Regions from separate parts of the Homo sapiens genome. Here all the other regions are linked to region 4. Evidence: promoter capture Hi-C in 16 types of primary human blood cells and fetal thymus (Javierre and others, 2016). All regions are on one chromosome and are shown on one strand. Each heading gives the region's core, a stretch centred on a gene start or on the middle of the fragment in contact. The rest is flanking DNA. Distances are from core to core; before and after follow the strand shown. Region 1 holds the start of PLD6 (phospholipase D family member 6). Region 2 holds the start of FLCN (folliculin). Region 3 holds the start of COPS3 (COP9 signalosome subunit 3). Region 4 holds the start of TOM1L2 (target of myb1 like 2 membrane trafficking protein).

Region 1 (2,935 bases), core at 217-2,716, 770 kb before region 4:
GGACCCTGGCTGACTCTGGAGAGGCTGCTCTGAGGCCCAAGTCAACAAGAGGCTATGGCTGTGCAGAAGGAACAGCGCGGCGGTGACCACTGCCCAGCCTGGACAATTCCCAGGGCTCCACACATCTCTCGGTCACTGCGACCACCAGTATTATCAGATCCAACCGTTGCACGTGCAGGCGTGACTTTCTGGGTGCCTGAGTGATGGAGACAGAGACAGGCCCAAGAGTCTGTGAGTGCAGATACACAAAAGGCAACAGCAGGCTGGGCCGCCGAACTGGGCCAGGATGGACTGAGAATCCTCAGGTGGGACAAGGATCCCAATTATTCACATTTCCTGGTCCCTTCTGTCCCCACCCCATGAGAGAGGCGCCCCCGCCAGAAATATGTGTTCCCCTCCTTTTGCAGCTGGGAAAACAACCGAATGTCCTGGCGCTGCTTTCTAGAACATGTTCAGGTCTCCCAGAGCCCAGTGGCCTGAGATTCACTGGGCAGCAGGTGGCCGCCTCTCCCCAGAGCCCTTCAGTCTGGAAGTCCAAGCACAACCCTGGCGTCCAGCTCCCCTGCCACCAGGATCCAGGTTACCAGAGGCCGTCCGGGGATCTCCGGCAGCGTAGGAGGGCGGGCCCGGGCTGCAGCAGTCACGAAAACTCCGCCGGCGGCGCCCGAGGAGTTGCTAGGGGAATCTGCTCCGCCTCTAACCCGGCACACGCAGGCCCACCTGCTTCCAGCATGCCGGGACAGTTCACTGAGAGAACCGCCCCCACCGCGGAGGCACCGAGGGTCCGGCTCGCTTATGCCCACGCAGCCGGCTAGACCTTCTGTGGGGGCTCTGCTTTCTCCGCGTTACACCACCCCGACCCCACAAGGCCACGAGGAAAGTAAATGAGGCCTCAGCCCGTCCCCAGACCCCCTCCCCTAAGTGTCCACCTTTGCGCCTAGGACCCCGCGTGGGCCAAGCCGGCCTTCTCCGCTTGGACCCCGCCGGGCCTACCTGCCTTGCGCAGCAGACCGATTTGCGAGCCGTTGAGGGCCATGTAGTCGCAGTCGGTGACGACCCGCACTCGCACCCCACGCTGGTGCAGCAACTGCACGGCGCGGCCCAGCTGCGGGCTGGAGAAGGCGAACAGGCAGAGATCCAGGCTGGCGCGGGCGGCCAGCAGGGCACGCAGCAGGCGGCTTAGCGCGCTCTCGCCGTGGGGCAGGCCGCACGGGCAGCCCTCGGGGAGCTCGGCCAGCTCCGCGCCCGGAGCCCGCAGCAGGGCCTCGGTACAGGTCACCTGAGACGGGAAGAACAGCGCCTCGCGCCGCGGCCGCCGCCGCCTGGACCGCAGCCAGCGCAGCACCCAAGGCAGCGCCTCCAGAGTCAGAGCCAGGCCCACAGCCGCCGCGGCCGCCACCTGCCAACTCAACCGTCCCATGCCGCCGCTAATCCGGGACCCACAGCCACGCCGCCGCAGCGGAGTCTGCGCGCCCCCAGCCCTAGACCGCCAGGCCACGCCCCCGTCACGCGCCGCCAGCGGCCATGTGCCAGGCCACGCCCAGCCCCCCATGGCCACGCGCCAGGCCACGCCCTATCACGTCCTGCCAATTGCCACGCACCAGGCCACGCCCCCGTCACGCAGCGCCAACGGCCACGTGCCAGGCCACGTGCCAGGCCACGCCCAGCACCCATGGCCACACGCCAGGCCACGCCCCCGTCACGCCCCACCAACGGCCACGTGCAAGGTCACGCCCTCAGCCCCCGAGGGCCACGCGCTAGGCCGCGCCATGCCCCCACAACTGTCACGCACCAAGCTGAACCCACGCCTCCCATCAGCCCGCCCCCAACCCTCAACAGGTGACCACGCCTCCCTCCACGCGCCAGGCCACGCCCCCTGCCACAGACACCCTCCACCCCCCAACGCCAGGCTGTGCCCCCCATTTTCCTTCCAGCCAGGCGCTCGGCCACGCCCTCCAGGTTCCACCTCCCACCACGTGCCAAGCCACGTCCCCAAGCCCGCGCCACCAGGCAGCACCTGCACACCCGCGGGCCACGGGCCCTAGCACACCCGTCACCTGCCCAGGCCAGAGACCGCTCTCCGCGCTAGAAGCCACAGCAACCCCGGCTTTCCTCGCATGGAGCACAGCAGAGCTGCTCTGGAAATGTGGGGTCACACCTTCACTGTCTTCTCGGGAGCAGCTAGGCTGGGCTGGGGAATGACCTGGGAACACAGATAATCAGGGAATCAACACAGCTGGAGGCAGCATTGGAACCCAGCATACTGGAGGCGGTGTCGGCCCAGAGGTTTTTTCCTAGCCCAAGAGGTTTTTTCCAGCCGGCGTTGTTGGAAGGCCTGCCCTGCTTTAAGCATAAACAGAGGAAGAGACTAAGGCAGCCGAGGGCACTGGGCCGGGGGCATAGGGAAACGGGGCAATGTGGTGGTCTGGGCTGGATCCTGGAACCGAAAGAAGACATTCACGGAAAAACTGGTGAGAGCCAAATAAAGTCTGGAGCTTAATCGCATTGTACCAATGTCAGTTTCTTAGCTTTGACAAATGTATGAAAGGAATGTAAAAGGTTAACAAAGGAAGCTGCGTGGGGGTAAATGGATCTCTCTGTTCTATATTCGAAACTTTTCTGTAAAGCAAATTATTCTAAATTAAAAGTTTATTAAAATATTAAACTTGCACCTTCCATATGATCCAGCTATCCCACTCCTAGGAGAAAGGGCGGGATCCATTAACACAAGCACGTGTCCTGGCAGGCGTATGTGCCTAGAACAACCCAAAAAGGCGTCAGCAGGTAAACAGGTAAATAAGCTTTTGTATATCTGTACAAGGGAATGCTATTTAGCAATAAAATAGAATGAAGTGGCCTGGCACGGTGGTTCATGCCTGTTATCCCAGAACTTTGGGAGGCTGAGGCAGGAGGACAGCTTGAGTTCGGGAATTCG
Region 2 (2,833 bases), core at 27-2,526, 740 kb before region 4:
GACAGTATTCAAATTCCCTGATGTGGTAGAGTGTCTGTTCATGTCCCCCTCCCACAATGGCTGAGTCCCAGACCTGGACAGTGACCTCACCACCACCCGTGGTGCGCCCTGGCCCTATTTCAACCCTACTTCCTATGGTGTTCTCATAGCACCGTGGAGAATTAAAGAGGCCACTAAGTAAGGGCACTCTAAATAAACAAAGCACTATAACGGATCTTAACCAGCAGTGGACACACAGCTTCTATAACTAGTCTCCCACTGGGGAGCCTCATTAAGTTAGCAGCTGGGATCCCAACAAGCCCAGGGTGAAAAGTTCTGCAGGGGATGACTGCCAGTTCAGATCCACTCTCACTGTGGCTCTATTTCCACCGTTTCCCTGGATTTCCATTCACAGAGCTCCCTGACATAGGACACTAGAAGGGCAAACGCAGTGTCACCTGCCACTATTACTCAATTACTTGATGACCACGGTGATAATCTGGCACTAAACTGGCTGTGGCCAAAGGCTAGAGAGCCAGAACCTACTTCCAGCAAGCTCCTCCTTGCCCTGTGTCCCCACTTGAAGAGACTGCTAGTGACCACACCTTGGACTTCAATCCACAAGCCAATCCATTCTTTCCAGGAGACAAGGACGCGACTGACAGTACTCTCAACTGGAGAGAAGCGCGGTCTTCCACCCTCCCTGGAGGACACGGTGCTACCCTATTAGCGCATCAGAGGACCCTCCTGAACGCCAAACTGGGAGAAGAGGATGACACACACCCTCTCCTCCAAACAGAGCGAAGACAAAACCTGGGAGAAGGGAAGGCAAACAGTCCCGTTTCATGGCAACATCAAATGAGATCACAGTCCTCATCCCCATAGACTTGGTTAATGGGCGTGCCCCCAACCTATCTTCAAATCTCAGGGTCTCGGCGACGCCCTGGACTCTGGCCCTAAACCCTCCCCCATTACTCGTCCACCTGGGACCAACGAAAACTCGGACATGCCCCTCCGCCAACCCCTCAGACCCCCGCCTACCTGCTCCCCAAATCGAGGCCCGCGGGACACCTGGACTCGGCAGCCGGGGTCCCGCTCTGGGTCCCAGCCCCGCCCCTGACTGCGCTGGGTAGGTGGTCGCTGCGGGACCCGGACCGGCGGAATCACACCCAGAGCCCCCAAGCCCACGGCAGGGATGTCACCCGGGGTGGCGAGGCTCTCAAGCCCGGGTTCAGGCTCTCAGGGGAGCTGGCAGAACCAGGAGCGACCACACTCACTCGCGGTCCCGCAGCCCCGCCGACACCCAGGCGCGTGACTCCCTGAGCCGTACCACCACCCAACACTGCGGTGGGGGTGCGGGAGCCGTCCGAGCGCGTCCTGCACCGCGAGGAGAGCCGGGCCTCCCTAGCTCTCGCAAGCCCAGGAACACAGTCCGAGTCCTACAACTCCGAGGTCTGACTGGGAAGCAGGGGCCGCTGCCCGACAATTACCCTTTTCCACCGCCCCTATTCCGGTGCCCCCCTCTGGGAAGTTCCGAATGGTTCAGACCGCACCAGCTGGGGATGCTGGGGGAAACCATTTCATTAAGCGCGGGAGTATGCTGAAACTTAAAAATCATTTTAAAAAGAGATTTGAGGGTAAATATAGCCAACCTAAGGCTTCCTGTCCACATAAAAGAGAAAAATAAAGAAAAAACGTTATAAGAGGTTGGCAGGCTTTTTTTTTTTGCTTCACCAATGGTTTTTATTAAATTGCTGATGGAACCCGTCCTCTCCCTACATTGAGAGTATGGAAGGTGCGGGAGACGGCCGTCACGTGACGCGGAGAAGGCGCGGCGCCCGTGGGAGGTTGGTTGCAGAACTCGGAACCGCTGTGCGCGCGCATGTGTGGGATTCGGTCTTCCTCCCTCAGTGGGTCTTTTTTAAAAATGTGAAAATCAGTTTTTGAATAATATTCTTTTTTTGAGACAGAGTTTCGCTTTCGCTCTTGTTGCCCAGGCTGGAGTCCAGTGGCGCGACCTCGCCTTACTGCAACCTCCGCTTCCCGGGTTCAAGCGATTCTCCTGCCTCAGCCTCCCGAGTAGCTGGGGACTACAGGCGTCCGCCACCACGCCTGGCTAATTTTTTGTATTTTTGCAGAGACGGGTTTTCACCCTTTTGGCCAGGCTGGTCTTGAACTCCTAACCTCAGGTGATCCACCAGCCTCGGCCTCCCAAAGTGCTGGGATTACAGGCGTGAGCCACCGCGCCCGGCCTGAATAATATTTTTTAAAACTAGAGCGCCCATTACTAAATTTAGCTACTTAGAAGTTAATTGTAAAGCCATTAGTTTGTGATGTAGTGTGGGTCCTTCCAGTGAAGACCGGAGAGAGATGGGAATCAGAGCCTGACCCGCCTGTGCGCGCTGCCCCCTGAGGTGTGGCTGCCCCCTGAGGTGTGGCCGCCCCGGAGCCTTCCGCCGCGGCCGAGGCTATGGTTGCCGCAGAGTCTCCAGAATGTGCTCACCAGGAATAGAATAGAAAAGTGGGTGGTTGTGTTTTTGAAATCAGAAGTCACTTATTTTTTTCTCTTTAAATTTCCATGTTCTGGTCGGGCGCGGTGGCTCACGCCTATAATATCCCAACACTTTGGGAGGCCGAGGTGGGCGGATTACGAGGTAAAGAGATGGAGACCATCCTGGCCAACAGGTGAAACCCCCTCTCTACTAAGAATACAAAAAAAATTAGCTGGGCGTGGTGGCACACGCCTGTAGTCCCAGCTACTCTGGTGGCTGAGGCAGGAGAATTGCTTAAACCCGGGAGGCAGAGGTTGCAGTGAGCTGAGATCGTGCCACTGCACTCCAGCCTGGCACAGAGC
Region 3 (2,906 bases), core at 321-2,820, 690 kb before region 4:
ACTTTGCAATTAATGACGGTAACAATAATTTGCAGCTATATTTATTGCACCCCTTATGACAGGCACTGTTCCAACTGCTTTTACATGGTTTCTCTCATTGAATCTTCACAACTCTACATAAACTAGGGACTTATTTTGCAGACGAAGAAACTGAAGCACGGGATAGTTAAAAGGGCCTTCACAGCCAGCATCTAATCATTCGAATTTCAGGTCCAGAATTCGGTACATTCATACGCAATGAATGAACCAAACAACCTGGAAAGTGCGAGTAAAATCATCACAATTCTACCCCTAGAAATGGAGTCCTGGCCGGGCGCAGTGGCTCACGCCTGTAATCCTAGCACTTTGGGAGGCCGAGGTGGGCGGATCACTTCAGGTGAGGAGTTCGAAACCAGCTTGGCCAACATGGTAAAAACCCCATCTCTATTAAAAATACGAAAAAATTAGCCGCGTGGGCTGGCCGCGGTGGCTCATGCCTGTAATCCCAGCACTTTGGGAGGCCGAGGCCAGTGGATCACCTGAGATCAAGGTTCGAGACCAGCCAGGCCAACATGGTGAAACCCTGTCTCTACTAAAAATACAAAAATTAGCCGGGCAGGCGCCTGTAATCCCAGCTACTCGGGAGGCTGAGACAGGAGAATCGCTTGAACCTCGAAGGCGAAGGTTGAGGTGAGCCGAGACCGCGCCACTGCACTCCAGCCTGGGAGACAGTGAGACTCCGTCTCAAAAAAAAAAAAAGCCGTGTGAGCTGGCGGGCGCCTGTAATCTCAGCTACTCGGGAGGCTGAGACAGGAGAATCGCTTGAAGCCGGGAGGCTGAGGTTGCAGTGAGCCGAGATCGCGCCACTGCACTCCAGCCTCGGCTAAAAAAAAACAAAGAAGAAGAAATGGAGTCCTACGAGCGAGAGCTTCCGCAGCATTCTGTAGGACCAAAATAGGCGCACAGGTTCCCGAGCGTGCGCCGCCTGGCAGCGGAGGAGCTGGCAGAGGCGAGCCATAGAGCCAAGACACCCAGAACGGACTCGCCTCCCGCCCGCTCCCGGCGGCCTAGTCAGCAAGCTGCGGATCGGCGGCAAAGATGACATGGCGGTGCGCCAATCACCGAAGGCAAGAGAGACAGAAGGAACCAATAGTCGCCCGAGATGGCTCCTGGCGGAAGTCACGCCCCCAAACTGTCAAGCAAAGCGCCCGGTGGAAGGGGCCCAGGCCGGGGGGAGGGGGCTCCCGGCGGCCCGAGGGAGGGGAGGCCGGCCGGCGAGGACAGCGGAGCGCGAGGGGGCTGCCTACACTCGGCCGCGCTCGATCCTGCCCTGATCTAAACGCCGCAACCCCAAGCCCGGCCCCGGAGAAGAGTCTCAGGACTAAAAGGGCTGTTCCAGCCGTCCGTGCTGGCGCCTGGGGATCCAGGCCAGTTCCCGGTACCCGCCCATGCCCAGCCCGGCGGCCTAGGGCGTTACCTTGAGCTGAGAGCTGTCGGACACTGTTCACGAACTGCTCCAGGGCAGACGCCATGTTTTCCCCCGGGCGGCCCGAGCGGCGAAGGCAGCACGCGCGGGAAAAGGCTGCCGCTCTGGGAGGAGGGGCCGCGGCGATCCACCTGAGGTCCTCGCGAGCGGCGACGTCACTTCCGCTGGTTCAAGCACCGCGAGACTATACCTAGCTGCCCACCCGTTACTGTTTCCATGGAAACAGCCTGAATTCGCCGTAGCCGGAAATTAGTGTTCCATAGTCCCCTGCATCTTTATTCACTGCACTTCTGAAATCCCTCCGCAGGTTAAATGGGGATAGTGGGCAAAAGAAGGAAGGAAACTCATAATTAAGCAAGTATTTTCTGGTTCTGGATTTTGCTAGAGAGGCCCTGCGGTTTTCCACCTGGACAGATACTTCAATGAAGCACAACTTCGTTGCCACGTCTCCCGTGAGGTTTTCCCCGTGATATTAGACTCTGGAGCCAAGCAGCCTGGGTTCAACTGCCTTTTCTACCACTTAGTAGCTGTGTGACGTTGAGCGGGTCACTTGACTGTCGTGTGCATTGTTTTCCCCATCTGTAAAATCTTAGTGTCCTTAACCACGTAAAACACTTAGGACAGTGCATAGGACGTAGGGAGAACTATAGTTATTCATTCAAGGTGTACGTTGAATGAATCGATCCCTTCCCTGCAAAAAATAAATAAATAAGTAACACCACACACAGAAAGTGAATTGATTTTTCCCATCTGGGATTGATGTCTCCCTCCTCCGCTTGTCGCCTAAAGCACTTTGTTCTTCTCATGTTGCACTTCTACTCTGTTACAGAAATGTGTCTCTATAGTCCATGTGATATCTGTAAACCAAAAATAAAAGTCTAAGCCCCCCAACTGACTGGTGGACCCTATCTGAAGCCAAGGACATTCCAATTTATCCTGAAAAACTAGTTCAGGCCATGATGGGAAGTGGTAGTCAGACATGCCTCACAAACATCAACACAGAGACCTTAAGACTGGTAGACTCAAGACTGATAAGAAATATTTACAATCTATTCTGTCTGAATAGCAGGCTACCTGGAAGCCTCATCTGCATGATAAAACCTTGGTCTCCACAACCCCTTATAATCATAACCCAGATATTTCTTTCTATTTACTTCCAGGTCTTTAGATAATAACTCTTTCAACCAATTACCAATCAAAAAATCTTTAAGTCTACCTATAAGGTAGAAGCCCCCCACTGCCCCGAGTTAGCCCGTCTTTCCGATCCTAACCAACGTACATCTTACATGTATTGATCGATGACTCATGTCTCCCTAAAATGTATAAAACCAAACTGTACCCGCACCTTGGGCACATGTCCTGAGGAGCTCCTGAGGCCGTGTTATCATCGCATCCTTCACCTTGGCAATATAAACTTTCTCGATTGAGACTGGTCTCAGAT
Region 4 (2,955 bases), core at 456-2,955:
TAAAGAAAGGCTCCTAAATGCTAATTAGCCAACAGGAGAGACCTCAATAAGTTTATAGGCTCCACTAAAGGCTGGAAAGTAAGCTAAAATTTCATAAGCAAAGCAGAAAATAAACAAATCACTACTGCTGAAATCAGGCCCATAAGAACACCAAAGATCCTGGCTCATAAAAGACGTTTTACCAGTCCTTCAACCAACCAGGAGGAATCCAGTTTTCAAACAAACTAATCAGCATTCTTGACTGATCAAGTGGCATAAGCCACTGCCTTGGGTAAAAAGGCAAGTTGCTTTCTTAGTAAGGAAGTCCCATATGGTGGCCATTTCAGTATTCCTTTACCTACACTTTGGGCTTTCCTTATCCATGATTCTGGCCATCTCTGGTGTCCCCAGGTGTCCACATCCCCCCTATAGGATTAACAGATAATGCTGAGTACCATTCTCTCTACATTGCCAACAAAAGATTTCAGCTTTGGTAAACTTAATATGAGGTGGGGGAGGAAGCAACAGTCAATGTGCAGAGTACTACAAAGAATATCAAAACTTGAGAACTTTAAGGGATCTATCACATCTCATCTCCAAACACTTTGACAGACAGGGGAACTTCAAACCAGAAAGGGCACAAGGTCATATGGAGTCACTGACAAAACCACTGCTAGAGTCCAGGCTTCCATGATTCCCAGTCCAGGGCTCTTATCATTAAATAACACAGCCTCCCTTCTTTCCTGGGAGGCACTGCAGGCATGCCATCCCCCTGCCAAGATAATCACCCTCCAAGAGCCCCTCCTCCTATCCCAGTCCCTCCTACAGCACAGCTGAGTTGCAGCTCAAATTAGCAAGTCCCGGAGCAGGGGGCATTTCTGGGAGGGTGCCCAGTCTGAGGGTTGCTGGTACCGAAGAGGAGGGACAAAGATGGAGAAGAAGGTGACATCCCACAAAGGGTTTGGGAGAACTGGGTCCTTGGGGCAGTGGCAGTGAGCCTGCTGGGCTGGATAAAGACACATGCAGTGGCATCTCCCAAAGCGCATTGGGGAAGCAGACCAGCAGTTGGCACCACCTCTAGCAGCAAAAGGAAGGGCTGAGCCTTGATGGGCAGGGAAGCCTGGGGCATCTCCGAGTCCAAGTTGGGCCTCAGGGGTGCCTCCTGGCAGAGTGGCACTGGCGCGCCCGTGAGGTGGCACCAGTGCCCGGGAGGAGGCCCGAGGACACAGATGCCCTGCCTGCCCGTGGGATAGCACCGGCACCCGGCGAAGGCCCAGCCCCCCCGGGAGGTGGCACCGGCGCCCGGCGAACGCCCGACGACCAGGATGCCCAACCCGCCCGTGAGGTGGCACCGACGCCCAGTGAAGGCCAGACGACCAGGATGCCCAGCCCGCCCGTGAGGTGGCACAAGCGCCCGGCAAAGGCCCGACGACCAGGATGCCCAGCCCGCTCGTGGAGTGGCACCCGCGGCTGGCGGAGGCCCAGCCCGCTCGTGAAGTGGCACCGGCGCCCGGCGGAGGCCCGCGGTCCTCACCAGCCGGATCAGCGGCCGCCGTTGCCCAGCCTCCTGCCCCACACGCGGCCTTACCGAGGCACTGCCCCACTGGTGTGCTGAACGGGTTCCCCAGGAGGAACTCCATCTTGGGTGGACAACACGCAGCGGCCCGGGCCCCCTGTCTGCCACCTAGGCCTCCGCTGTAACCCGCCGGACTCCCGTCCTGACTGACACTTGCCCCCTCCCCACTCTCTGGAACGCCGAGCTTAGGGCCTTTGGCCCCGCCCCCTTGCCGCGTCTCTATTGGGGGACACCTACGAAGCCCGCCTCCTATTGGTCGTTACACCTCTGTCAGCAAAGCCCCCACCCACCCCGCAGCGTCCGATTGGGCGGAGGAGCGAGCTAGGTCACCGGAGTCCCTGTCAGCCGTGGCGGCACCTCCCCTGGCCCGCCCCCAAAGGGGAAGCTGCGCATTTTGATTCCTCTGTATATTGGTCAATCTAAAGGATTCTTACTATTATTGGACAAAAGACGAGTCAATCACGCAAATGGACGGAACAGAGGTGAATCTAGGAATATCCCCGCCCATAGAAAGTACTGATTGGAGAAACATTTGTTTTCTCTACGGCTGGTTGGTGTAAGGAGTGTTTCACCACACGGAGATGTGGTCACGTGACTTGTCAACTTTCACCCAGGATGTCTCCCTTCTGACTTCCCCTTAGCAACCAAGTCGCGGCGCTTGGTTCCCCAGCAACCGGGAGACGCGTCTGCTGCGTGGAACCGCCGAGTTCCCAGCGCTTGAGAAGGTGAGACCTGGGAGCTGAGGCTCCCGGAGGACTTGCAGGGACAGATAGTGCCCGACGTAACTCTTTCCTGTGACCTTTTTCTCGGAGAACGCCGGCCCGGCCCTTCTCATTTATAAAATGAGCACGTAGGTCCTCTCCCAGCCACTTTACAGTCGTGTGAGACAGCCAAGACACTTTAGTCCTGGGCTTGTCAAGCTTTTGAATAAAAAAAAAAAAAAATACTAAGGAAGCATTTCCCGAGGGAGCAGGGCCAGAATGGATTTTTAAGGGGTTCCGTCTTCCAGCCTCCTTTCATAGAAAGAGAGGTACCCGGTCCACTGATAACTTTTCCCAGAATTTAGCCATCATAACTGACCTCATAACTATCAAATGATTTCATCTTGGTACTGTATATACCGCTTTGGATGTGAATACGGCTACTCAAGTTCTGTATCCGTCTCTGTCAGTAACTCATTGTACGACTTTGGACAAGTTCCTTTACCTCCCTGGAGCCTCAGGTTCCCTAGCTGGGAAATAAGGGCATTAGGACTCCCTTTTTATGGCCTCCGGAGCTTACATGTACTTAAATAATGCATGTGCACTGAGCACACAGTAAGCATTCAGTAAGTGATTGATTTTATTCTTTTTTAAGAAAAATTTTGTTCATTATTTATTTATTTATTTATTTTTTATTTT

What was found. Contacts are between HindIII fragments. The CHiCAGO score rates a contact against its expected background, and 5 or more counts as called.
Region 1: the fragment with the promoter of PLD6 here is called in contact with the fragment with the promoter of TOM1L2 in region 4 in 2 of 17 cell types (naive CD8 T cells and total CD8 T cells); the score reaches 8.7 in naive CD8 T cells.
Region 2: a contact is called between the fragment with the promoter of FLCN here and the fragment with the promoter of TOM1L2 in region 4, in 8 of 17 cell types (fetal thymus, activated CD4 T cells, erythroblasts and 5 more). The highest score is 10.3, in fetal thymus.
Region 3: a contact is called between the fragment with the promoter of COPS3 here and the fragment with the promoter of TOM1L2 in region 4, in 7 of 17 cell types (total CD8 T cells, activated CD4 T cells, naive CD4 T cells and 4 more). The highest score is 8.4, in total CD8 T cells.

The regions. Positions count from the first base shown.
Region 1 is chr17:17,204,867-17,207,801 of GRCh38, forward strand. PLD6 (phospholipase D family member 6) reads right to left here and starts at 1,467. Exons shown (of 2, transcript NM_178836.4): 1 at 994-1,467. The coding sequence starts at 1,420. RefSeq lists enhancers at 486-605, 1,661-2,500 and silencers at 1,126-1,245, 1,266-1,315, 1,436-1,685, 1,726-1,775. The HindIII fragment of the contact is 11,264 bases long and covers 1-2,799 here.
Region 2 is chr17:17,235,892-17,238,724 of GRCh38, forward strand. It overlaps FLCN (folliculin), which reads right to left and starts at 1,277. Exons shown (of 14, transcript NM_144997.7): 1 at 1,021-1,277. RefSeq lists an enhancer at 1,494-1,603 and a silencer at 2,038-2,223. The HindIII fragment of the contact is 3,806 bases long and covers 1-2,833 here.
Region 3 is chr17:17,279,676-17,282,581 of GRCh38, forward strand. It overlaps COPS3 (COP9 signalosome subunit 3), which reads right to left and starts at 1,571. Exons shown (of 12, transcript NM_003653.4): 1 at 1,457-1,571. The coding sequence starts at 1,511. RefSeq lists enhancers at 959-1,018, 1,669-1,768 and a silencer at 1,209-1,448. The HindIII fragment of the contact is 7,073 bases long and covers 1-2,906 here.
Region 4 is chr17:17,970,695-17,973,649 of GRCh38, forward strand. It overlaps TOM1L2 (target of myb1 like 2 membrane trafficking protein), which reads right to left and starts at 1,706. Exons shown (of 15, transcript NM_001082968.2): 1 at 1,568-1,706. The coding sequence starts at 1,619. DRC3 (dynein regulatory complex subunit 3) reads left to right here and starts at 2,168. Exons shown (of 14, transcript NM_031294.4): 1 at 2,168-2,280. RefSeq lists enhancers at 1,199-1,768, 2,140-2,459 and a silencer at 1,410-1,459. The HindIII fragment of the contact is 5,656 bases long and covers 1-2,473 here.